5 separate regions of the Homo sapiens genome follow, and regions 1, 2, 3 and 5 are each linked to region 4. Evidence: promoter capture Hi-C in human tissues and cell types (Jung and others, 2019). All regions are on one chromosome and are shown on one strand. Each heading gives the region's core, a stretch centred on a gene start or on the middle of the fragment in contact. The rest is flanking DNA. Distances are from core to core; before and after follow the strand shown. Region 1 overlaps GMDS (GDP-mannose 4,6-dehydratase). Region 2 overlaps GMDS (GDP-mannose 4,6-dehydratase). Region 3 overlaps GMDS (GDP-mannose 4,6-dehydratase). Region 4 holds the start of FOXC1 (forkhead box C1). Region 5 overlaps GMDS (GDP-mannose 4,6-dehydratase).

Region 1 (4,350 bases), core at 711-3,210, 340 kb before region 4:
GGGAACAAAAAATACATTCTACCTTCTACTTTTGGAAGGTTAAAAAATTTAATGATTAGATTATCCCTGATTTCCTAATTTTGATGACAGTAGCTATTGTGAATAAAGGGTGAAACACACATAATATTCAGCATTCTTTTTTTTTAAATGTGATTTTTCAGTTTTCAGTATGAGTGTAGAATTAGCCGCTTTGATTTCCTACACTAAGAACAGCAGCCTCGGTTTCTGTGAGACTTCCTAGGGTCCACGTCCTGGAGGAGAAAGCCCTGACCCAGGGGTGTGACGGAGAAAGTTGTTCTGTGCTGCCGGCTGTTGGCAGGCCTGCCTCTCATACCCAGCAGCCCTTTGCTTTCCGCAGGAGATCAGTTGAAGATTTCCGTCTTTCGATGAGGATATTTTTCTTATGTTGACTCATTTTAGTCTTTCGATCATTAGGAAAGTTTGGGCAATGTAGTAACCTCTACTTCCAGGACTGACTGAGGAGGTGATGTTTGGTTACATGAGCCTACCTCGTGGGCCGTTGGTTACCAGCCGTGAGTCACTCATAGGGATTGGCTTCATCCCTGGATACCTTTAGCCTGAGTAAGAAATCACGTTCCCTGTTGACAGCGTATTTCTTCCATTCTCCTCCCACTCTTTCTTCTCTCAGTGTTTAAGAATGGGACATTTACTCAGTCTGGGTAAAGCATTCTCTCTCCCTGTGGATCTTCTTTTCTCTTCCTTTCCATATTTGCCTAACGCCTAACTGAGCCTCTCTTCTACTTGCCATATGTAACTTTGCTCCTCTGTCTCTGACCATGGGGCCTTGCAACAGATCCATCACTACCTTCTTCCCCCAGGAGCGCTTCCGTTGCTAAACTGTCTGTTCAGAATTTCATGAGATCCTAGTAAATACTTCCAGAAAGCTGGTTTATTTTGTATTTCATTCTGAGTCACGAAGAACTTTTTTTAATCATCTCCCAGCTGAGGAATCAGAGGGGTTTGGCTATCATCATCATCATCATCCTTACTGTGAAAAATGCACGCTCATTAGCTCTTCGTGTTGCGTTTGACATAGTGATTTAATACTCCACAGGTACTTTCAGAGACATTTTGACTAACTTGTTTAACTTACAAATTTTTTATCTGTATGTGGAAATGAAATTCATGTGTACTTCTATTTTTCTCTATTTTTTAATTTTAAAAATGTGTATTAAGCCATTAGATACTATTTTTTCCTTGAAAGAGCTTCTAGGGAGCAGCCAGTTAACATCCACCTGTAGGTATTCTCCCAAAATACCCTCAGAATTTGTGAAATAGGAATTTAAAGCTTCTTTCATCTCCCTTTTTTCAGCAATGAGGAAACAGAAGCAGCATGAGATTGAGTTGTCCAAGGTCGTGAAGCCAATAAATGCTAACACGGAGACCAGAAATAATCCTAGGAGAAGTCATGTAAATATTGTACATATTTGTGGAAATAACATATATACGAATTTTAGAGTTGAACTTGAGCAAAGAAACCCCTGTGACACTGAGTGGGCCACCTCAGCTTGGCAGTGAAGCAAGTGGACAAGTTGGAAACGGAATGTCTCAGCTGCTCTTATCTTTGTAAAAGACCATTAGTTTGCTTAAAGGCAATATTCCTTTAAGATGTTTGACAGAAATAATTACAATAAACATAGTTTTATAATATTAGAATATAAATGTGATATGAAATAAATAACTTCTCTTGCCTGTTATCAAGAAGTTGGTAATAGGAAGAACTAATATAAAAGACATTAAAAATCAGGCCGGGCATGGTGGTCATGCTTGTAATTCCAGCACTTTGGGAGGCTAAGACAGGAGGATAACTTGAGGCCAGGAGTTGTAGACCAGCCTGAGCAATATAGTGAAACCTCATCCCTACCACAAAATAAAAAATAAAACATTAAAAATCATGTGGCAATGGGAAGCTATAAAGTACTTTAAATATACCCATAATTAACCGTGTGAGATTGCCACAAATGGATGGTGTACTAGCACTGTTTAGATACTGAGCCATTTCTAGATGAGATAGGACATTCCTTTAAATATGGGCTTCATAAGAAATCATATACATCAGTCTAAACACAGTATTCACCTGACTGAAAGAATCTGGCATTTTTAAGGTTCATGAACTTGTGGTTTTGAGTTTTCGTCTTGAGCATTTTTTTAGCTGCCAAGTACTTTGCTTTATAAAATGTCTGACTGTATTTATCTTTATAAATTAATCTTCAGAATTTTTAAAATAATTCATGTAAAAATTACTTGTCAAAATTTAAGTAAAATTTGGGGTAATTTTCCTTTTGATTTGTTTTTTAAAGATTGTCTTTATTTGTTGCTGTAAAGATAAGATTAATGCTCTAGAATAGTGGTTCTCAACTAGGGGTGGGGAATGGGGAGAGAGTGGCTCTTTCCTCCAGAGGACGTCTGGCAGTGTCTGGAGATATTTTTCTTGTCCCAACGGAGGAGGGGGCTACTATTGGTGTCTGGTAGGTAGAGGCCAGGGATGCTGCTGAACATCCTACAGTGCACGGGATGGCTCTATAACAAACGCCTGTCCTGTCCAGATGGTTCATAGTGGTGTGCACGGGATGGCTCTATAACAAACGCCTGTCCTGTCCAGATGGTTCATGGTGGTGAGGATAAGAAACTCTGCCCTAGGATGTCATCCTTCCAAATGTGCTTGCAGAATCTGTGTGAATGCCACCTGTAACAGATGAGATGAATGCCATCTCATTTTTCGTTACACTTCAGTTTTACTTTACAGTAAATTCTTCATAGAACAACAGTAGGGTCTCATTTTTCTTTAGGTATCACTTTCACTTTACAGTAAATTCTTCATAGAACTTTAGCAAACATTTACGTGAACACCAAAGAAAACATTCGGATTCAAATAGCTCCAGGGCCTTAAGTATTATGGTCTGCTGCAGGTCAGACCCAACTCAAACCCAGGACTCTTCTAATCATTGGAGGCTGAACCCTCACCTCAGTGACCCACTGATTCACGAGCCAAGTCAAGATGGGTTTGGGACCCTCCCAAGCCTCCAAAATCAATGAACATGTTTACTTTTTGTTATTAGTTATAAGAATAACACATTTTTCATTTGAGAATAAGTTGTAGAGTCCATGATCTGGCTTTGATATAAAACAACAGTTAGAACTGATTCAAGATTATCTTTCAATGCATAGGATTATACTAATATTAGTGTGAAGGGTTCACTGCATATGAGAATTTTCCTTTAAAACTATTAGAATTCATAGATGTTTTAGTGCTTTAGGGAATAATATAATGCATGATAGAAATTAGGTAACTGGGACTTGTTTTCAGTTAATCACAATAGGCAGAAAACACTTTCTCTCTGTGTAAATACTACATATAACATGTCTAAATAAAATAATCTTTAAAAAATTACTGAATATTGGCCAGTTTGGCAAATTCAAATCATGCACTGTAGAAGTATCAAACAGGCAAACCAATAGCAAATACCTTAATATTTTGTTTGTATTTCTAGCTATAAAAGGTGCTTTGTGGCTTTTGTAGATGAGCATCAGAGACTTAATTTATTGCAAAAAATTTTAGCAGCCCATTGTGAAATCAGGGGATGAAGTAATCTCCTGTTGGAGTTCAGTAGAGCATTATAGGTTTTACACAATACCATTTGTCTGTCCATAAATGGTTAGATTGTTGGCCGCTACTCTTGGACCCACCAGGTTCTGGGTAGCCTTTCTGGTTGGGGCACAAAGTGACATCATCTGGTTTACCATTGCATTTGTAGACTATGATACTTCATAGATGACATGTACACTTGGCGATCACAAAGCTGTCTGGCCCATGTTATTCTTTGTGGAGAGATGAGGTGTAATTGCTTAAACATAAAAGACTTTTGAAGCAATACTTGGTCTAATGCAGGTGCTGATTACCACCAAACAAAATGAAATCCCTCCCATCTCCTGAGGTGAGATTTCTGGAATTGTTAAATTGAATTCAAGGGGTTGTTTTTCAGTGTTTTGTAATGTCTGTGACATTTATGTTTGAAACCAAACTGATAACTGTCTGATGACATGTAGCACAGTTCCCTGCAATATAGCCACGCAGTATATATACACAGAGAATTTGGCCACTCATCATCAGCTGTGTGCATTTGGGCACGTCACTTACTCAGATCTCAGTTTCTGCATCTGCACATGGAGAGGTTAATAACGCCCACCTGATGGAGCAAAGTGCAGCTCTGTCATTTCAGCTCACTGTGAAGGTGATGGGGAAAACTTACAGGGAAAAGATTAATACAGTGCATAGTAGATTTTGAAGATTTATTTCATATTTCCTTTCTCTTTTCTTCCCTGTTCCTG
Region 2 (4,297 bases), core at 1,031-3,530, 400 kb before region 4:
TTCCTAAATAGAGTCTGTGGCTTACTGCTCTCTCAGTTGTAATCCACTCTTACTATATGGAAGCCCTGTTGATGAATGTTGGTAAGGTCCTATTTTTAAAATGAGGCTGAATTTCTGGCCTGTGGCCAGAATTGTTTCTTAGCAGTTTTTTTTCTTTCTCTTTCAAAGGAGACAGGACAGATAGATGCGGCCAGAGTTGAGTGTCTGCTTTTCCCCTAGGTCAGAGAAGACTTTGTCGAAGCATTTTCCCTGAGAAGGCAAGTTTTTGTTAGGGAGACCAGAACACCCTTGGTGTATTTCAAAACTGTTACTGCAACAGGAGGGGGTTTTCTCTGATGTTCACCGTAAAGACTGTCTTGGAGCTCTTGAAGGTAAAATTCTTAAAAGTGTGGGGACTCCTCTAAGTTGGGGCTCCTGGGACTTTTTTTAACTCCCAAGCTAGTGCATATTCATTCTGCAGGAATTCACTGAAGTTACCATTTTGATTTTCCTGGCGGTTTCTCCTTCAGATAAGCCAATCTCAACCGCCATTCTCTATATTCACCTGTCTCTCCAGAAAAAAAATAAAAAAGAATAATTTTAATGTGGTTGTTTGCCCTGTGACCTAAATTCTCACATGGACCTAAGAAAAGTCATCGGTTTTCCATTTCCTCAGCATTTTTCTTGTTGTGAGGACTAGTGGTAAACCCAATTTCTTTATATTTTGTAGCTGAAACCACCCAGCTTTCTTTTCATTAGTGTTTGCATGATAAAACTGTCCGTCCTTTTAACCAATCTGTCTTCATACTTATATTTCACATAAAAAACATATTATTGAGTCTTACAACAATTTTATCTAGTGTGAAAATCTCTATTAATTAGAATATTCAGACCATTTCACTTAATGTAATTATTCATCTAATTAGATTACAGTCTTTTAATTTTATTTCATTTGTATTTCTATAAATTTAGGGGGTGTGAGTGCGGTTTGGATCCGTGGATATATTGTGTGGTGGCGAAATCTGGGTTTTTAGTGTAATCATCACCCAAATAGAGTACATTATACCCACCACGTAATTTCTCATCCCTCACCCCCCTCCTGCCCTTCCAAGTCTGTGATATCTTTTATTCCACTCTCTATGTCCATGTGTACACATTATTTAACTCCCATTTATAAGTGAGGATATACAGTATTTGACTTTCTGTTTCTGAGCTATTTCACTTAAGATAATGGCCTCTTGTTTCATACACATTGCTAGAAAAGACATGATTTTGTTCTTGTTTTATTTTACTTTTTATTTTTGAAGACAGAGTCTTGCTGTAGACAAGAATGCAATGGCATAATCATAGCTGATTGCAGCCTCAAGTTCTAGGCTCAGGGGTTTTCCCATCTCAGCCTCCCACGTAGCCAGGACTATAGGTAATGCGCGACCACGCTTAGCTAATTTTTAATTTTTAATTTTTTTCTAGAGACTGAGTGTCATTATGTTGCCCAGGATGGTCACGAACTCCTTGCCTCAGGCAAATCCTTCCACCTCAGCCTTTCAAAGTGTTGGGATTACAGGCATGAGTCACCGTACCCGGCCCTGATTTTGTTCTTTTTTATGACTGAGTAGTATTCCATGGTATATATGCCACATTTTTAATCCAGTCTTCCAATGATGGACATGTATGTTGTTTCCACATCTTTACTATTGTGAATAGTTCCGTGATAAACATATAATTGGAGGTATCTTTTTTATATAATTGTTTCTTTTCCTCTGGATAGATACCAAGTAGTGGGATTGCTAGATCGAATGATAGTTCTATTTTCAGTTCTTTGAGAAATCTCTATACTGTTTTTCATATAAGTTGTATTAATTTACATTCCCACCAACAGCGTATGTGTTTCCTTCTCTTTGCATCCTCACCAACATCTTCTATTTTTAGACTTTTTAGTAATAGTCATTTGGACTGTTGTAAGATGATACTTCATTGTGGTTTTAATTTGCATTTCCCTGATTAGAGATGTTGTGATCATTTTTTCTTATGCTTTTTGGCCATTTGTATGTCTTCTTTTGAAAAATATCTGTTCATGTCCTTTGCTGAGTTAAGCCCTTTTAATGTTTTGGTTTTTATTTGTCACATTTGTTCTTGGATCCTTTCCCCCGTCTTTTCTTGCCTTATTTGGGTTGAATTTGGTATTTTTAAAGCATTCTTTTAAATCTTTATCTTATTTGTTTATACCTGTTTGATTTTTTAAAAAATAATTTCTCTAGATTTTGTAATAAGCACCTGTATCTTATCTCTCTCTATTTGTAGACAGTATTATATCACTTCCCATATAATGTAAGAGGTTGACAATAATATACTTCCATTTCCTCATTTGGTCTTTGTTCTATTGTTTTCATAGATTTTATTTCCCCATGTTTTTAACCCTGCAATATATTTTTATTATTTTGACTTTAAACAATTTTTAAAACAATTTTTAAATGAATAAAAGGCTTATTTACCCACATCTTTATCACTTCTGATGTTCTTCATTTCTTTACATAGATGGAAGTTTTTATTTGGTATAGTTTTTGTTTAGTCTGATTTACATTTCATGTAGTTTCTGTTTGCTCTCAGTGAATTTTTTCAGCTCTTGTTTGTGTCAGCCAACATCTTCATTTTACCTTATTGAGTGTTATTTTCATAGATATAGAATGCTAGTGACTTTTAGCACTTTAAAACTCTTTTTAGATTAGATTCTGTTTAACATTTTGACAAGTAATCTCATCATCCTTGTGTTCATTTCTCTATGGGTCTTTTTCACTCTGTTTGCAACATTTTTGCTATATCACTAGCTTAGGGTAATTTGATTTTGATGTGCTATGTGTTTTTTTTTTTCTTTCTTTCTTTTTTTTTTTTTTGAGATGGAGTCTTGCTATGTCACCCAGGCTGGAGTGCAATGGCACGATCTCGGCTCCCTGCAACCTCTGCCTCTCGGGTTCAAGCGATTCTCTTGCCTCATCCTCCCGAGTAGCTGGGACTACAGGTGACCACCACCACACCTGGCTAATTTTTGTATTTTTAGTGGAGACGGGGTTTCACCATGTTGGCCAGGCTGGCCTTGAACTCCTGATGTTGTGATCCACCCACCTCGGCCTCCCAAAGTGCTGGGATTACAGGTGTGAGCCACCGTGCCCAGCCTGATGTGCTGTGTGTTTTTCTTGTGTTTATCCTGCTCAGGGTTCGTTGGGTTTCTTGGATCAGAAGGATTACAGTCTTTATCAATTTATGACAGTTTTCAGCCATTATATCTTCAAGTATTTTTCTTGTATTTCAATAGCATGTTAGACCACTTTTTCCAACTGGTCATTGAGGCTATGTTCAAAATAAATATAAGCAATCTGTTTTGGAGAGTACAGTAACGTGTTTTTTGATACTTTGTAGAATTCTGCTGATAGAGATGAAGATCCTATTTGTCATTGACATTGGCAGCTTTTATCACATTCTGTAATAATAATCATTTTCCCTTTCCATTTTTTAGTATCTTTACCAGTTTTCATCTCCTTTGTTCCTGATGTTTTGGGTTCACATTAAATCTTTGCTGCTTGATTTATTCCTTGCTTAGACTTATCTGTGCTGCTTTAAACGAACCAAGGATTGAATGGTTTTCTGTGCTCAGATCTAACATATTTGTGAAAGAGACCCTCCTGCCTTTTAAAAAGCATATCTTTGTGGCATTGTGAAAAGTTCCCAGCTGGGAATCTTGGATTCTAGTCTGCTTTTGACAGCAATTACAGGACCTAAGATCTCTGAGGTGTAGTTTACTAAACCATTGGTTCCTGAATCTGGCCATGTACCTAAAGATAACGTTCTGAATTCCCATTCCTCAAGTGTCTGATATCATAGATGTAGTATGGGATTTGGGAAGCTATCTGTATAAAAAGTCACCTAAATGGAGCCTGTTTCACTGTTGAGAGTTGGTTGGTCACTACTTCTTCATGGTTTAACCAAATGTCAATCAGGAAATACAGAATGTAGAGGCATCAGGATGTGTGAATGTTCGTATCTTGAGTTTAGTTTGGGAACAAAGAGCCTAAAATGTGTTCCCAAATGTGACTGGTCAGTCAAGAAGTGGCACTAAATACAAACCTAGCCACTTTTCTCCTTTAAATTAGAATAAAAATACCTAGCTCATTGGATTGTTACAAAGATTAAATGAAATGCTGAATATAAAATACTGACAGTAATAACAGCACTTAACATCTTGCTTCCTGTTTTTATTTTTATAAACTCAGTTACCAATCTAGCAACTTGCTTTTCATAGAGTAATTGGCAAAGTAAGTAAGAG
Region 3 (4,361 bases), core at 927-3,426, 370 kb before region 4:
AGTGCCTGGATTACAGGTGTGAGCCACCGCACCTGGCCAAAGTATTTTCTGTTAATACCTAGTTTACTGAGAGTTTTTACATGAGGGGATGTTGAATTTTATGGAAGGCCTTTTCTCATCTATTGAGATAATCATGTGTTTTGTGTCTTTAGTTCTGTTTATGTGATGAATCACATTTATTGATTTGTGTATGTTAAACCAACCTTGCATCCTGGGCATGAAGCCAACTTGATTGTAGTGGATAAACTTTCTGATGTGCTGCCAGATTCGGTTTGCCAGTATTTGGTTGAGGATTTTTGCACTGATGTTCATCAAGGATATTGGCCTGAAGTTTTTCTTTTTTTTGTTGTACCTCTGCTAGGTTTTGGTGTCAGCATGATGCTGGTTTCATAGAATGAGTTAGGAAGGAGTCCCTCATCCTCAATTTTTTGGAATAGTTTCAGTAAAAATGGTACCAGCTCCTCTTTGTACCTCTGGTAGAATTCAACTGTGAATCTATCTGGTCCTGGGCTTTCTTTGGTTTGACCTCCTCAATTTCAGACTCATTATTGGTCTATTCAGGGATTCAGTTGCTTCCTGGTTCAGTCTTGGGAGAGTGTATGTGTCCAGGAATTTATCCATTTCTTGTAGATTTTCTAGTTTATGTGCTTATAGGTGTTTGTAGTATTCTTTGATGGTTGCTTGTATTTCTGTGGGAACAGTGGTGATATCCCCCTTATCATTTCTGATTGTGTTTATTTGAATCTTCTCTCTTTTCTTCTTGATTAGTCTAGCTAGCAGTCTATTTTATTAATTTTTTTCCAAAAACCAGCCTGAATTTTTTTTTTTTGCAGGTTTTTTCATGTCTCTGTCTTCTTTAGTTCAGCTCTGATCTTGGTTATTTCTTGTCTTCTGCTAGCTTTGGGGTTTGTTTGCTCTTGGTTCTCTAGTTCTATTAATTCTGATGTTAGGTTGTTAATTTGAGATCTTTCTAGCTTTTTGATGTGGGCATTTAGTGCTATGAATTTTTCTTTTAACACAGCTTTAGCCGTGTCCCAGAGATTGTGGTATGTTGTCTCTTTGTTCTGATTAGTTTCAAAGAACTTCTTGATTTCTGTCTTCATTTCATTATTTATCCAAGAGTCATTAAGGAGCAGGTGTTCAATTTCCATGTATTAATAGTTGTGTAGTTTTGAGTGAGTTTATTAGTCTTGAGTTCTAATTTGATTGGGCTGTAGTCTGAGAAACTGTTATGATTTCAGTTCTTTTACATTTCCTGAGGAGTGTTTTTCCTCTGATTATGTGATTAATTTTAGAGTAAGTCTCACGTGGCTATGAGAAGAATGTTTCTGGGTGGACAGTTCTGTAAATATCTATCAGATCCTCTTGATCCAGAGCTGAGTTCAGGTCCAAAATATCTTGGTTAATTTTCTGTTTTGATGATCTGTCTAATATTATCAGTGGAGTGTTAAAGTCTCCCACTATTATTGTTGGGAGTCTAAGTCTTTTTTTGAAGGTCTCTAAGAACTTGCTTTATGAACTTGGCAGTGCTTTTTTATTGAGTGTTTGTATATGTAAGACAGTTAGCTCTTCTTGTTGAATTGAGCCCTTTACCATTATGTATGCCCTTCTTTGTCTTTTTTTTTTTTAATCTTTGTTGGTTTAAAGTCTGTTTTGTCAGAAACTAGGATTGCAACCCCTGCTTTTTTCTGTTTTCCATTTGCTTGGTAACTTTTCTTTCATTTCTTTATTTTGAGCCTATGTGTGTCCTTGCATGTGAGATGAGTCTCTTGAACACAGCATACCAATGGGTCTTGTTTTTTTATCCAGCTTGCCATTCTGTGTCTTTTAATTGGAGCATTTAGCCCATTTACATTTAAGGTTAGTATTGTTATGTGTGGATTAAATCCTGTCATGATACTAGCTGGTTATTGTGCAGACTTGTTTATGTGGTTACTTCATAGTGTCACTGGTCTGTGTACTTCAGTATGTCTTTGTAGTGACTGGTAACAGGTTTTCCTTTTCATATTTAGTGCTTCCTTCAGGAGCTCTTGCAAGACAGGTCTGGTGGTGACCAATTTTCTCAGCATTTGTTTGTCTGAAAAGGATCTTAAATCTCCTTCACTTATGAAGCTTAGTTTGGACAGATATGAAATTCTAGATAGGAAATTCTTTTCTTTAAGAATGTTGAATATTGGCCACCAATCTCTTCCAGCTGGTAGGGTTTCCACTGAGAGGTCTGCTGTTAGTCTGACGTGCTTCCCTTTGTAGGTGATCTGGCCTTTCTCTCTGGCTGCCCTCAACATTTTTTCTTTTATTTCGACCTTGGAGAATCTGATGATTATGTGTCTTGGGGATCATCTTCTTATGAAGTATTTCACAGGGATTCTCTGCATTTCCTGAATTTGAATGTTGGCCTATCTTGCTAGGCTGAGGAAGTTCTCCTAGATGATAACCTGAAGTATATTTTCCAACTTGGTTCCATTCTCCCCATATTGTTCAAGTATCCCAGTCAGTTGTAGATTCATTCTCTTTACATAATCCCATATTTCTCAGAGGTTTTGTTTATTTCTTTTCATTCTTTTTTCTCTATTCTTTTTTGCCTGTCTTATTTCAGAAAGACAGTCTTCAAGCTCTAAGATTCTTTTCTCCACTTGGTCTATTCTGCTGTTAATATTTGTGATTGCATTGTAAAGTTCTTGTAGCATGTTTTTTAGCTTAGCTCTATCAGGTTGGTTCTGTTCCTCTAGACTGGCTATTTTGGCTGTCAGCTCCCATATGTATTGTTTTAGCTTCTTCGCTTTGGGTTACAACATGCTCCCTTAGCTCAGCAAAGTTCATTATTACCCACATTCTGAAGTCTCCTTCTGTTATTTCAGCCATCTCATCCTCAACCCAGTTCTGAGCCCTTGCTGGAGTTACTGCAGTCATTTGGAGGAAAAGGGGCACTCCAGATTATTGAGTTTTCAGAGTTTTTGTGTTGATTTTTTTTCTCATCTTTGTGGGCTTATTTACAAATGAGTTGCTGACCTTTGGATGGAGTTCTTGTGGTTTTGTTTTTGTTGTTTTGTGTTTGTATGTTTGTTTGTTTTTAATAGTCTGGCCACTCCAGACCCTAGTTGCCTCAGTTTTTCCAGTACCTATCACCAGTGAAGGCTGTGATATAGCAAAGATGGCAGCTTGCCCCTTCCTCTGGAAGCTTCATCCCACAAGGGTACTGACCTATTGCTGGCCTGAACGCACCTGGAGGAGGTGGCTGGAGACCCTGGTTGGAAGTCACACCCACTCAGGAGGAACAAGATCAGAGACCCACTTAAAAAAACAATCTGGCTGCTTTTTGGTAGAGCAGCTATGCTGTGTTGGGGATCCCTTCAGCCCCTGATTGGTTTGGGCTCTCCATGGCCCACAGGCAGCCCAAACAGGCAAGGTGATGACCTGCCCCACCACTCAGGCGCTCTGCCCCAGGGTGAAATTAGAGCTCTTTAGGCCCCAAAGAACATGGGGTGGGAGGGGGTGGCTGGAGGCCCCAGCTGGGAGGACCCGCCCCACAAGGAGGAGTATAACGGAGTCCTGCTTAAAGAAGCAGTCTGGCCACACCTCTACAAAACAGCCTTCATGGTGGGGAACCCCCTTTGCCTCAGTCGGCTAGGACTCTCCAAAGCTGGCAGGCTGGAATGGCTGAGTTATCCAACCAACCCAGGTGGTGGCCCTTTCCTCTTCCAGGCACTCCATCCCAGGGAGACATCAGAGCTCTGTCCCTAATACATGCGCTTGGGCATGGCTGGTGGGCCCACCAGGTAGGTCCCGTCCAGTGAGGAGGAATGGATTGATGTCCTGCCTAAAGTAGCAGTCTGGCCTTTAACTGACAAAGCTGCTTTGGTTCACTGCTGGGGGGACCCTTCCTCGTTGGGACCCTTTGGACTCTCCAAAGCCCGCAGGTTGGAACAGCTGAGTTATCCAGCAATCCAGGTGGCAGCCTGCCCCTCTCTCCGTGGGCTCCGTCTGGTCTCAGGCAGTCTCCACTCTGTTGCTGGTGGCCAGCTGGAATTCCAAGACAGTAGGTCTTATCTTGTGAAGTGCAGTGGAAGTGGGGCCCGCAGAATGATGCTGCCTGGTTCCCTGGATTCAGCCCCTTTCCTAGGGTATGTGCAGACCTCTTGCCTTGCCTGAGCTGTAGACATATTTGCTGGATATCCTGGGGCTGGAGTATGTAAAGCTTCTGGGTCTGTGTCTGTGCCTGAGCAGCTGTTCTGCCAAGACTCCACACAGCTCTGTGTGTCAGACTCAAGGCCCTGGTAGCATGGGCTCACGAGGGGATCTCCTGATCCGTGGGTTGCAAAGATCTGTGGGAGAAGCATGCTTTCCCAGTGTCACACAATCAC
Region 4 (4,486 bases), core at 1,105-3,604:
TGAGCTGAATTTTTGGAGGGATATTCTGTTCGCTGGTGTGGTGAATATTCTCAGGGGTTTTTTTTAATTGGATTTTTTTTTTTTAGTTTCGATTTTGCCTTGATGGGTTCCTTTAGCTTTTCCTGCTTTGGGGTTCGATTTAGTTCGGCTTTGAGGGTGTGTCAAAACTTGCTACAGTCGTAGACGAAAGCTCCGGACGTGCGGTACAGAGACTGGCTGGAAGGGAAGGCCATTTGACAGCTACTATTCCCGTTCACTGGAGAGTTGTTCAAGCCGATCCTCTGTGACTCGAACATCTCCCGCACCGAGTGGAAGTTCTGCTGCTGGCCCGGGTAGCCTGCGGCCGCCGCCGCCGCCGCCGCGCTCGCCAAGTGGCCCAGGTCTCCGCCCGCCTGGTTCAGGTACCACGAGGTGAGGCGGCCTTGGTGGGCCGCAGGGTGGTGGCCGGCCTCCTGGCCTCCCCCGCCGCCGCCGCCGCCGCCGCCGTGACTCAGGGACGACGAGCTGCTGCTGGTGACCGGAGGCAGAGAGTAGTCGGGCAGGGGGTCGTCCACGGCCGAGCCGCCCGCGCCCCCGGGCGCGCCCTGCAAGTGGCCCCCGCGCTCGCCGGCCGCGTACAGGCTCATGGCTTGCAGGTTGCAGTGGTAGGTCCCGGCGCCGCCCGCGCCCCCCGCGGCCCCCGCGCCGCCGCCGCCGCCGCCCGAGCTGCCCGCGCTGGAGGTCTGGCTGCAGGGGGAGCTGTAGAGGGAGCTCTGGCCGGGCGAGTAGGCGCCGAGCGCCAGCGGGGGTGCGATCCCCGCGCGCGAGGACGCGGCCGCCGAGGCCAGAAGGCCGGAGCTGAGCTCCGCGGCCGCGCTCTGCGGCGACCCCCGCAGCGACGTCATGATGTTGTCCACGCTGAAGCCCTGGCTATGGTGCGGCGGCGGGGCGGAGGGCGCGGGCGGCGGCGGCGCGGAATCCGCACCGTCCAGGCTGAGCGGCCGCGCCGACGGCAGGCTGCCCGGGGGGCTGCTCCCGCTGGACAGGCTGCTGCTGCTGCTGTCGGGGCTCTCGATCTTGGGCACCGCGGCGGCGCTGCCGCTGCCCAGGGCGGCGGCCGGGGACAGGGGCTGGGGCGGCGAGGGGCACGTACCGTTCTCGGTCTTGATGTCCTGGATGCGCACGGGCGGCGGCTGCGGACCGGGCGCGTTGCCGTCGGCCTGCTCCGGCGGCGCGGGCGGGGGCTGGCGGCCGGGCGGGGGCGGCTCCTTGAGGTGCAGCCTGTCCTTCTCCTCCTTGTCCTTCACCGCGTCCTTCTTCTTGAAGCGCCGCCGCCGCCGCAGGAAGCTGCCGTTCTCGAACATGTTGTAGGAGTCCGGGTCCAGCGTCCAGTAGCTGCCCTTGCCCGGCTTCTTGTCGTCGCGCGGCACCTTGACGAAGCACTCGTTGAGCGAGAGGTTGTGGCGGATGCTGTTCTGCCAGCCCTGCTTGTTGTCCCGGTAGAAGGGGAAGCGGTCCATGATGAACTGGTAGATGCCGTTCAGGGTGATCTTCTTGTCCGGGGCGTTCTGGATGGCCATGGTGATGAGCGCGATGTAGCTATAGGGCGGCTTCACCATGTCCTTGGGCTGCGGCTGCGGCGTGTAGGGCCCGTAGGCGCGGGCCATGCCGCCCGGGTACTGCTCGGCGTGCGCAGGGTGCGAGTACACGCTCATGGGGGCCGGCATGGCGGTGTAGCCGCCCCCGGCCGCCGCGGCCGCCGCGCGGTAGTAGCTCTGCTCGCCGCCGAGGTAGGGCACCACTCCCAGGGAGTTGGGGCTGGACACGGAGTAGCGCGCCTGCATGGCCCCCGCTCGCCGCCGCCCCGCGCCGCCCGCCGCCCCCCACCCTCGCTCGGGCCGGGCCGCGCCGCGCCGGCCGCCGAGTCCGAGTCCGGGCCCGGCCGAGCTGGTGCCGGCCCGCTGCGCTGTGCGTCCGGCTGCGCTGCCGCCTCTCCCGGCGCTCGCTGGGGCTGGCTCCTCCGGCGCCTCGGGCTACCTCGGGGCCCGCGCGGCCGCGAGGCGGGGTCGCTGCGAGGGGAGAAGGCCGGGCCCGGCCGCGGCAGACCGCCTTGCAGGAACTCGCGGCGCAGCTTCCAGGCGCAAACGGGGGAAAGCAGACAAAAAGAAAGAACAAGCAGGCGCCCTTCTCGCCACACTGCCTGCGCCTTCCAGGAGACTCTGCCCTGAGCTGCCGGCGAAGGCGGCCAAATAACCAGGGCGGGGGGGGGGGGGGCCGCGCGCCGGCCGCCTGCCCGGGCCCCGCGTCACCTTTTCTCGGTCTCTCGCGCGCCAGCCGCTTAAGGAAGCATTGGGAAAACTTCTGAACTTTTGAGCATCCGTCACCCAGGCGAGGACTTTTTTACGCAGTTACACTTTTTTCCGGGCAGCGGAGCCCCGCCCCGCCAGCGGCGGCAGCCAATGGGAGGTGAGAACCGCCTCCGAATGAGCCGGAGGCCGAGCCCTGCCGGCCCGCTCCCGGAGGCCGGAGGACCGCGGGGCTGACCACACGCGCGCCGGCCGCCCTGGCCCGGGCCCCGGCCCTGCGCCCGCGCCGGCGCCCGGCCCGCCGTCGGTTCGCCCCCCGCAGTCCACCTGCCTGCCGCCGGCGCCCGGCAGACCTCCCACCCCGGGCCCTCCGGACCCACGCCCGCCGTTCGCGCAGACTTCCTGGGTCCTCCCGGGACCCCGTGCAGACCCTTCCTTCGCCCACGGCTCCCGAGTGGCCCTGGCGTCTCCGCCCCGCCTCGTGCTGGCTCGCTCTCATTCCTTCGCCAGCCCCGCCGACGCCAGCGCTGGGGTTGCCCCAGCCTCTCCTCCCCGCCGCCTCTCCCCTCCCGCAGCCCCTTCCCTCCCTTCTCCAACGCCAGTCTCACTCGGGTCACTGACGTCTCCGGCTTTTCTCCACTTGGAGGTTCTCCTGTCCTGAACTCGGCTACAAAGGACATGATTTTGAGGGCTCGGTCACAGCCAGGCCCTGCTCGCGGTGGGGAAGAAGGTTCGTCGCCCATCTGGCCCCCCTCCATGACCCCTCCCCAGCCGAAATGAAGGCAAGGGGTGCGGGGCCCTGCTGGGAGTTTCCGACGGCCGTTCACCCGCGAAGGATGAGCCCGCCCCGCTGCGGGCCGCCCTGCTTCTCGCCCCCCTCCCCGGGGGGCCGGCCCTTGGCGGCCTGAGGGTGCGGGCGGCGAGGGCTGCCGGAGCCCGGCTGCTGCCCCGCGCTCCCCTGCCCGCCCGCGAGGGTCCCACCGGCTCGCCGCGCCGCCGCCCCCTCTGATCCCGTCAGGCCCGTTTCGGCTCAGATGAGGGGTCAGGCTGCGGGCTCGGTGACATTAGCAGGTGTGATGACAAGAAGCAAATAAATATGTCTAAGAGCTTAACGCTTCCCCAGGCCAGTCTCCATCTCCACATGCGCGGGGCTGCCGGCTCGCAGAGACAACGGGTGTGTCTGGGGGAACGTCCAGGGTCGCACCTAGAGGGCGGTTCAAGGATTCTGGGGGGACACGCACGGAAGGGCCCCCGCTCGTTGTGCACACGCCTGAGATTCGCCGTCGCTGGGTGGTTGGAATGGGACAGGAAGAAGAGAAATGAGGGAAAGAAACGAAGGAGCGGGAAAGAGCCAGGCCTCCCTCCCCCGGCACGGCGATTCTGCATTTTAGCGACTTGAGGAGAGACCCTCCCGGAGGCTGAATCCCAAGTCGTTCACTAGAAGCTGGGGGAAGTGGCGAGCTCAGGAGACTGCGAAGAAGCGTGCGTGACGCATTTAACAGCTCCGCTGCCCCTGATTTCCGACCATCTATTAAATCCAAGGACATGTTCGGGACCCCTTTTGTCTCCCCGGTTCGAATCCCGGCTTCCTCACGTTGGCAGGAAAATTCAAATTGCAGCTTCGGCTGTTACATGTGAAGGACGCTGACGTGTAGCAGGCGCATCTCCGTGTCACCTGAATATTTAAAAATTACTGTTTCATAATGGACATTGACATCGAAGGAAAGAGGACCTGCCTCTTCTAGAATTAGCCTTTGGAGGAGGGAGGGTTGCCCCGAGGTTGCTCTGAATCCCGGGGCAGCTGCCTCCTGGCCTGCTGTGCGCCGGGGTCTCTGGAGACTCCTTTTCCAGGTGGTTTGCGGGCCAAGTCACTGGTGGGTTGGAGAAGCACCAACAGGAGGCTCAGCACTTGCTGGTTGCCAAGGACACTAGACAGGGGCGAGGGTGGTGGTGAAGCCCCAGGACCTGAACACTTAATTCCTGTTCAGCCCCCAGCCCGGCACCCTGAAGGTCTTATCAGCCCGCCTGGTCGAGGCTTTAAGGAGTGCTGTGGCTTCAGCCTGGAGGAGATTTAAGTGGTCTCCCTGAACACCTCAGCAAGTGGTGAGTTCGGTCTTGAAGCTGCCTTTTACACTGCTAGCGGTGCGCGGAGATGAACGCAGCGATTACGGATGCTTTGTTTTCCGAATGCGGGAAACGCC
Region 5 (4,208 bases), core at 568-3,067, 270 kb before region 4:
TACTTAGGCAACCTCGGAGACCAAGGAACAGTCACGACCTTGTCACGTCACTTTCCACTGTGATCTTTATAAACTAAAGCATAGTGTCTTAGCACTATGAAAACACTTCGTTCTTTGCCTTTGTAGTCTCCAGCCAATGTCGGTTTAGATATATCCCTCCCATGGTTTCTCCTACTCTTCCTTGGTGTGAGAAAGTGAAATAAAGTTCAGATTAAACATTTCACTTCTTCACTGGTATTTGTGGCACATTAATTTGATATATGATAAAGATAAACAAGCAGAACCAGAGAGTAAGGGGGAGAATCCACTTATTCTAAGATAGCTTTTCTTTTTCAACTTCAAAATGAGAAATAATTATATTTATCTCTGTAACATGGAGATAACTAGGCTGTAAATTAATTTCCATGCAGGCTTTTCTAATAAATTACAGAGTTTTACTCTTTTCCAGAATCAGGAGTCCAAAATGGCATCTCTGGGTCAAGTGCTCTGAGACTTCTGACCTTGTTTCTCCATAACGAGGGCTTTATCCCCTTAAATTCATAAATTACTTAAAACATCCTTTTAACATCTCAGAGGAGAGGTGCCAGATTGCTTAAATATCTCCTGTTTTATCAGAGTGCTACATTCATTTTTCACTCATTTCAATGTAGTTTCCTCCTATAGTTAAATCACCATTTCAAAATTTAACATTGAGTTAGGGAGCGTATAGATAAATGATAGAACTTTGTGACTGAAATAGATAAATCTTGGGCCACTGCCAGTAGATAAATAATGTCTATTCAAGCATTTTAGAAGTGATCAGCTATGAGGTCGCGCAGCTCAGGGCACCGTAGCCTAATGCACTTTTTAATGAGTAAATCATTGCTAACTGGTGTGCTCATAATTTAACTCCTTTTTAAATATACTGCCCATGGGTTTTGCCCCTAAAATGCAAGTGAGGTACCCTAAGGGCCAGAAGAGGACTGGGAACATTTACAAATGAGCATGACACTAATGTGAACCAATGGATTATTTGCATTCCACTGCTTCAGTTATCACTTAATGGCTGCAGGCTCTGATGGCAGGCCTGTGGACTGTGTTATGTTAGCCTCAAAAATAAATGCTAATATCTGCGAAGTTTTCACATTCCCCACCATATTTGGTCAATTGTGCTAGCTTAGCCCCTTAAGGGCTGCCAAGAGTCTTGTTGGCAAAAATGCCACTTTGGTGAAGACATAGCTGACCACCAGTCCTATTTGTAGACTTTCCCTGGTTAACGCTACATCATTTCCTCCCCTTAGAACTCTGGGATTTGTGCTTTTTATTAAGTGTGATCATTTGAGTTAAATATAAATTGCCCTCTTATATCATATTTTCCTTTGTTGGCAGTGTTTTGGTCTTTGGATAATTCTCCCAAGGGAAGTTCTCAACTGTATAAGTTTAATGAATGGTTGTATTGATCTGCTTTTCACATAGATATTTGATTGGGTACTTGGGACCATTTGGTAGAAAAGTAAGATATATGGGGAGAAAGGAAATGACTATTTCAGGTTCCTATATGTGGTTTAATTGTGGCTCCTTTTCCTTACATTGAGGCTCTCGCTCTGATTGTAATTACATTAAATCAAAATCTTTACTAGTTAAAAATTGTATAATAAATATTATATAGATGGCCATGTTCTGTCCATCTATTCTAAATGAACTGGGATTAAAACTAGGTAATAAATTTTGTAATGATTGGGAAATGCCTAGTTTTGATTAAATAAATGTGTAATAATGTGTTTGAGTTTATGCCCTTTATTTGGTTAATACTGAAACAAAGTATATGGGGTCAAAATTCCTTTTAGATATATTTAAATGTTAAAATTTAAATATTCATGTTTTAATGGTGAAGCTTTTTCATTGCTTGGCTCAGCACACAAAATAATTTGTACATTTTTAAGTAGGAGGAAATGTCTTTCAGTACGAGGGGAGCTGACTTGTAGTGCTGTGTCTGCTCCTTAAATATGTATGTGTGTGAAAATTAGACTTACCTAGATTTTTTTCAGCAAAACAGGGTTTTAGAGTGAGCTCATGTATCTGAGAGTATTTCTAGCTTTTAAAATCTATGATTTTATAATATATGTGGAAGGTTCTTTTTATTCAAATTGTCTTTAAGGTATTTAATTTGTTTAATTTTTAAAAATCCATTAATCAATGTATAAAAAAGATAAATGGACAATTGTGATTTCCATAAAATTATTATTATCATTTTATTTTATTTTTTTTGAGATGGAGTCTCGCTTTGTCATTAGGCTGGAGTGCAGTGGCACGATCTTGGCTCACTGCAGCCTCCGCCTCCTAGGGTTAAGCAATTCTCCTGCCTCAGCCTCCCGAGTAGCTGGGATTGTAGGCGTGCCTCACCACACCCAGCTAATTTTTGTATTTTTAGTAGAGATGGGGTTTCACTAAGTTGGCCAGGATGGTCTGGATCTCTTGACCTCGTGATTCTTCTGCCTCAGCCTCCCAAAGTGCTGGGATTGCCACCGCACCCGGCCCATAAAATTATATTTTTAAAGAAATCAAAGTCCTACTTATATATTTGTTTTTAATGCCACAAATTGTACATATGCAAAAAGAGTAATCCTTTTCTCTAGGAAATGGCTCATGCTAGTACTGCCAGCATACCTACCATGATATGAGTTCCTATGAGGAACCAAGCTAGATTACATACACAGTTTCTTCTAATCCTCACAACAATCACTCGTGATAGAGATTTGTTCTGTTTTACCAAAGGAAAAACCTGGAGCTAAGCCTAAAAGTTATAAAGACCGGGGAATTCTGAACTTGGATAACCCATGAGTTTTCTATTATGTCATGTTGCCTTATCCTTATAAATCCATTAGATAATGACTTCAAGACAATATGATGTGGAATTTAAATATCCTGTCTGTGGCCACATTAGTGCTTATTAGATAATCAGCAGTAATAATTGTGTTTGGATCCTTTTGCTCACTGACCCTCTGCTAGACACTGCTTATGACGTTGAGTTCTTAAGATTGGATTTTTTTCTTTTTTCTTTCTTAACTCCCTATGCAAAGTCCTTCGTTAATTATTTCTCTCTCTTCTGTTTAATTGATTCTGTGTCATGATTATTCTAATTGCAAAATATGGAATCTTGTAATTAACTTGTCATACTATTCTAAGAGCACCTCTCATTACACTTTGGTTTATTTCATTCTAGCCATTTATTCATATTTGAGTGTATACAGTTGTACTTATGTACACACACGCATATATCCTTGTGCATGCTCAACTAAACTGGGAATTTTAACCAATATTTGCATTTCTAAGCAATATTATATATCCATTTTAAAAAGCCAATTAAATAGCTCTTTGGTGCAGTACACTGAGAGTATTGTATGTCAGTTTTCTCTGCCTCCAGCTCTGAGGGACCAAGGGCTATGAAGAATTCTCAGACCCCAGATGCCTGCTAAATATGCTTAATTTAGACAGCATAAACTGTATGTTCCAGTTTGAAAATACCACACCATGTTTTTTAAGCCCATGCCTTCCTTCATTGATTTAGAAAAGAAGTTCTAAAAATAAAATACTCACCAGAAATAAACCTACTTACATGTGTATTTAAAAATAATCACTTAGATTATCTTTTGTGGACCAAGAATTGGTGACATAGGACCTTGTCTTGGAAAAACTCTGTGAGTTTTACTGTAGCTTGTGAGACTTTGAATCTTACTGCTGTCTGTGGTTCTGGAAGGTTTTGTCTGCCTCCTTCTAATGGTAATTCTTACCAGATCTCTCGCTGACTGTTGGTCATCTTGCCAGATCTTGAGTGATGTCTTTTGCTTCATCCTGCTGTGCATCTTGCAGGAAAGTAGATGCTCTTGGTCATTTGAGTAATCCGAATCTTGTTATTTCCAGTCAACTCAGTTGGATTTCTGGGATGAGAATTAGAGGAGTCCCATTGAAAAACTGGAATGAGAGATGAGAAGTTTGCTGAAAACAGAACATTTTTTTGTGTGTGGATTGATTTGCCTCGTATACCTGCCTTGTACTTTAACCACATCTTTGCAGTTTAAAATAGAACACATTATTTCTTCAGATTCACTTATTTTGACTACATCAGTAATGCTCTTACAAGGCTGCATGACAGATTTATGGTGACATGCTTTAGGCAGTTCAAAATCCTTAAACCTATATTCAGCTCCTTTTTTCCTAGAAAGTAAGTC

Evidence for each region. Contacts are between HindIII fragments. The study calls those that stand out against the background at their distance.
Region 1: a contact is called between a fragment that was not itself captured here and the fragment with the promoter of FOXC1 in region 4, in 2 of the 25 tissues and cell types used here (H1 embryonic stem cells and lymphoblastoid cells).
Region 2: a fragment that was not itself captured here is called in contact with the fragment with the promoter of FOXC1 in region 4 in 1 of the 25 tissues and cell types used here (heart right ventricle).
Region 3: a contact is called between a fragment that was not itself captured here and the fragment with the promoter of FOXC1 in region 4, in 1 of the 25 tissues and cell types used here (IMR-90 fibroblasts).
Region 5: a contact is called between a fragment that was not itself captured here and the fragment with the promoter of FOXC1 in region 4, in 1 of the 25 tissues and cell types used here (aorta).

The regions. Positions count from the first base shown.
Region 1 is chr6:1,949,113-1,953,462 of GRCh38, reverse strand. The region is part of intron 6 of GMDS (GDP-mannose 4,6-dehydratase); the gene reads left to right. Among named protein-coding and RNA genes, the nearest start is that of GMDS, 290 kb to the left of the region's middle. RefSeq lists an enhancer at 1-1,048. The HindIII fragment of the contact is 8,040 bases long and covers 1-4,350 here.
Region 2 is chr6:2,008,900-2,013,196 of GRCh38, reverse strand. The region is part of intron 4 of GMDS (GDP-mannose 4,6-dehydratase); the gene reads left to right. Among named protein-coding and RNA genes, the nearest start is that of GMDS, 230 kb to the left of the region's middle. The HindIII fragment of the contact is 5,524 bases long and covers 1-4,297 here.
Region 3 is chr6:1,977,700-1,982,060 of GRCh38, reverse strand. All of the region lies in intron 4 of GMDS (GDP-mannose 4,6-dehydratase), which reads left to right. Among named protein-coding and RNA genes, the nearest start is that of GMDS, 270 kb to the left of the region's middle. The HindIII fragment of the contact is 5,340 bases long and covers 1-4,361 here.
Region 4 is chr6:1,607,783-1,612,268 of GRCh38, reverse strand. FOXC1 (forkhead box C1) reads right to left here and starts at 2,354. Exons shown (of 1, transcript NM_001453.3): 1 at 1-2,354. The coding sequence starts at 1,823. The coding sequence ends at 162. RefSeq lists enhancers at 1,497-1,596, 4,310-4,486 and a silencer at 1,927-2,546. The HindIII fragment of the contact is 11,200 bases long and covers 1-4,486 here.
Region 5 is chr6:1,881,429-1,885,636 of GRCh38, reverse strand. The region is part of intron 7 of GMDS (GDP-mannose 4,6-dehydratase); the gene reads left to right. Among named protein-coding and RNA genes, the nearest start is that of FOXC1, 270 kb to the right of the region's middle. The HindIII fragment of the contact is 6,892 bases long and covers 1-4,208 here.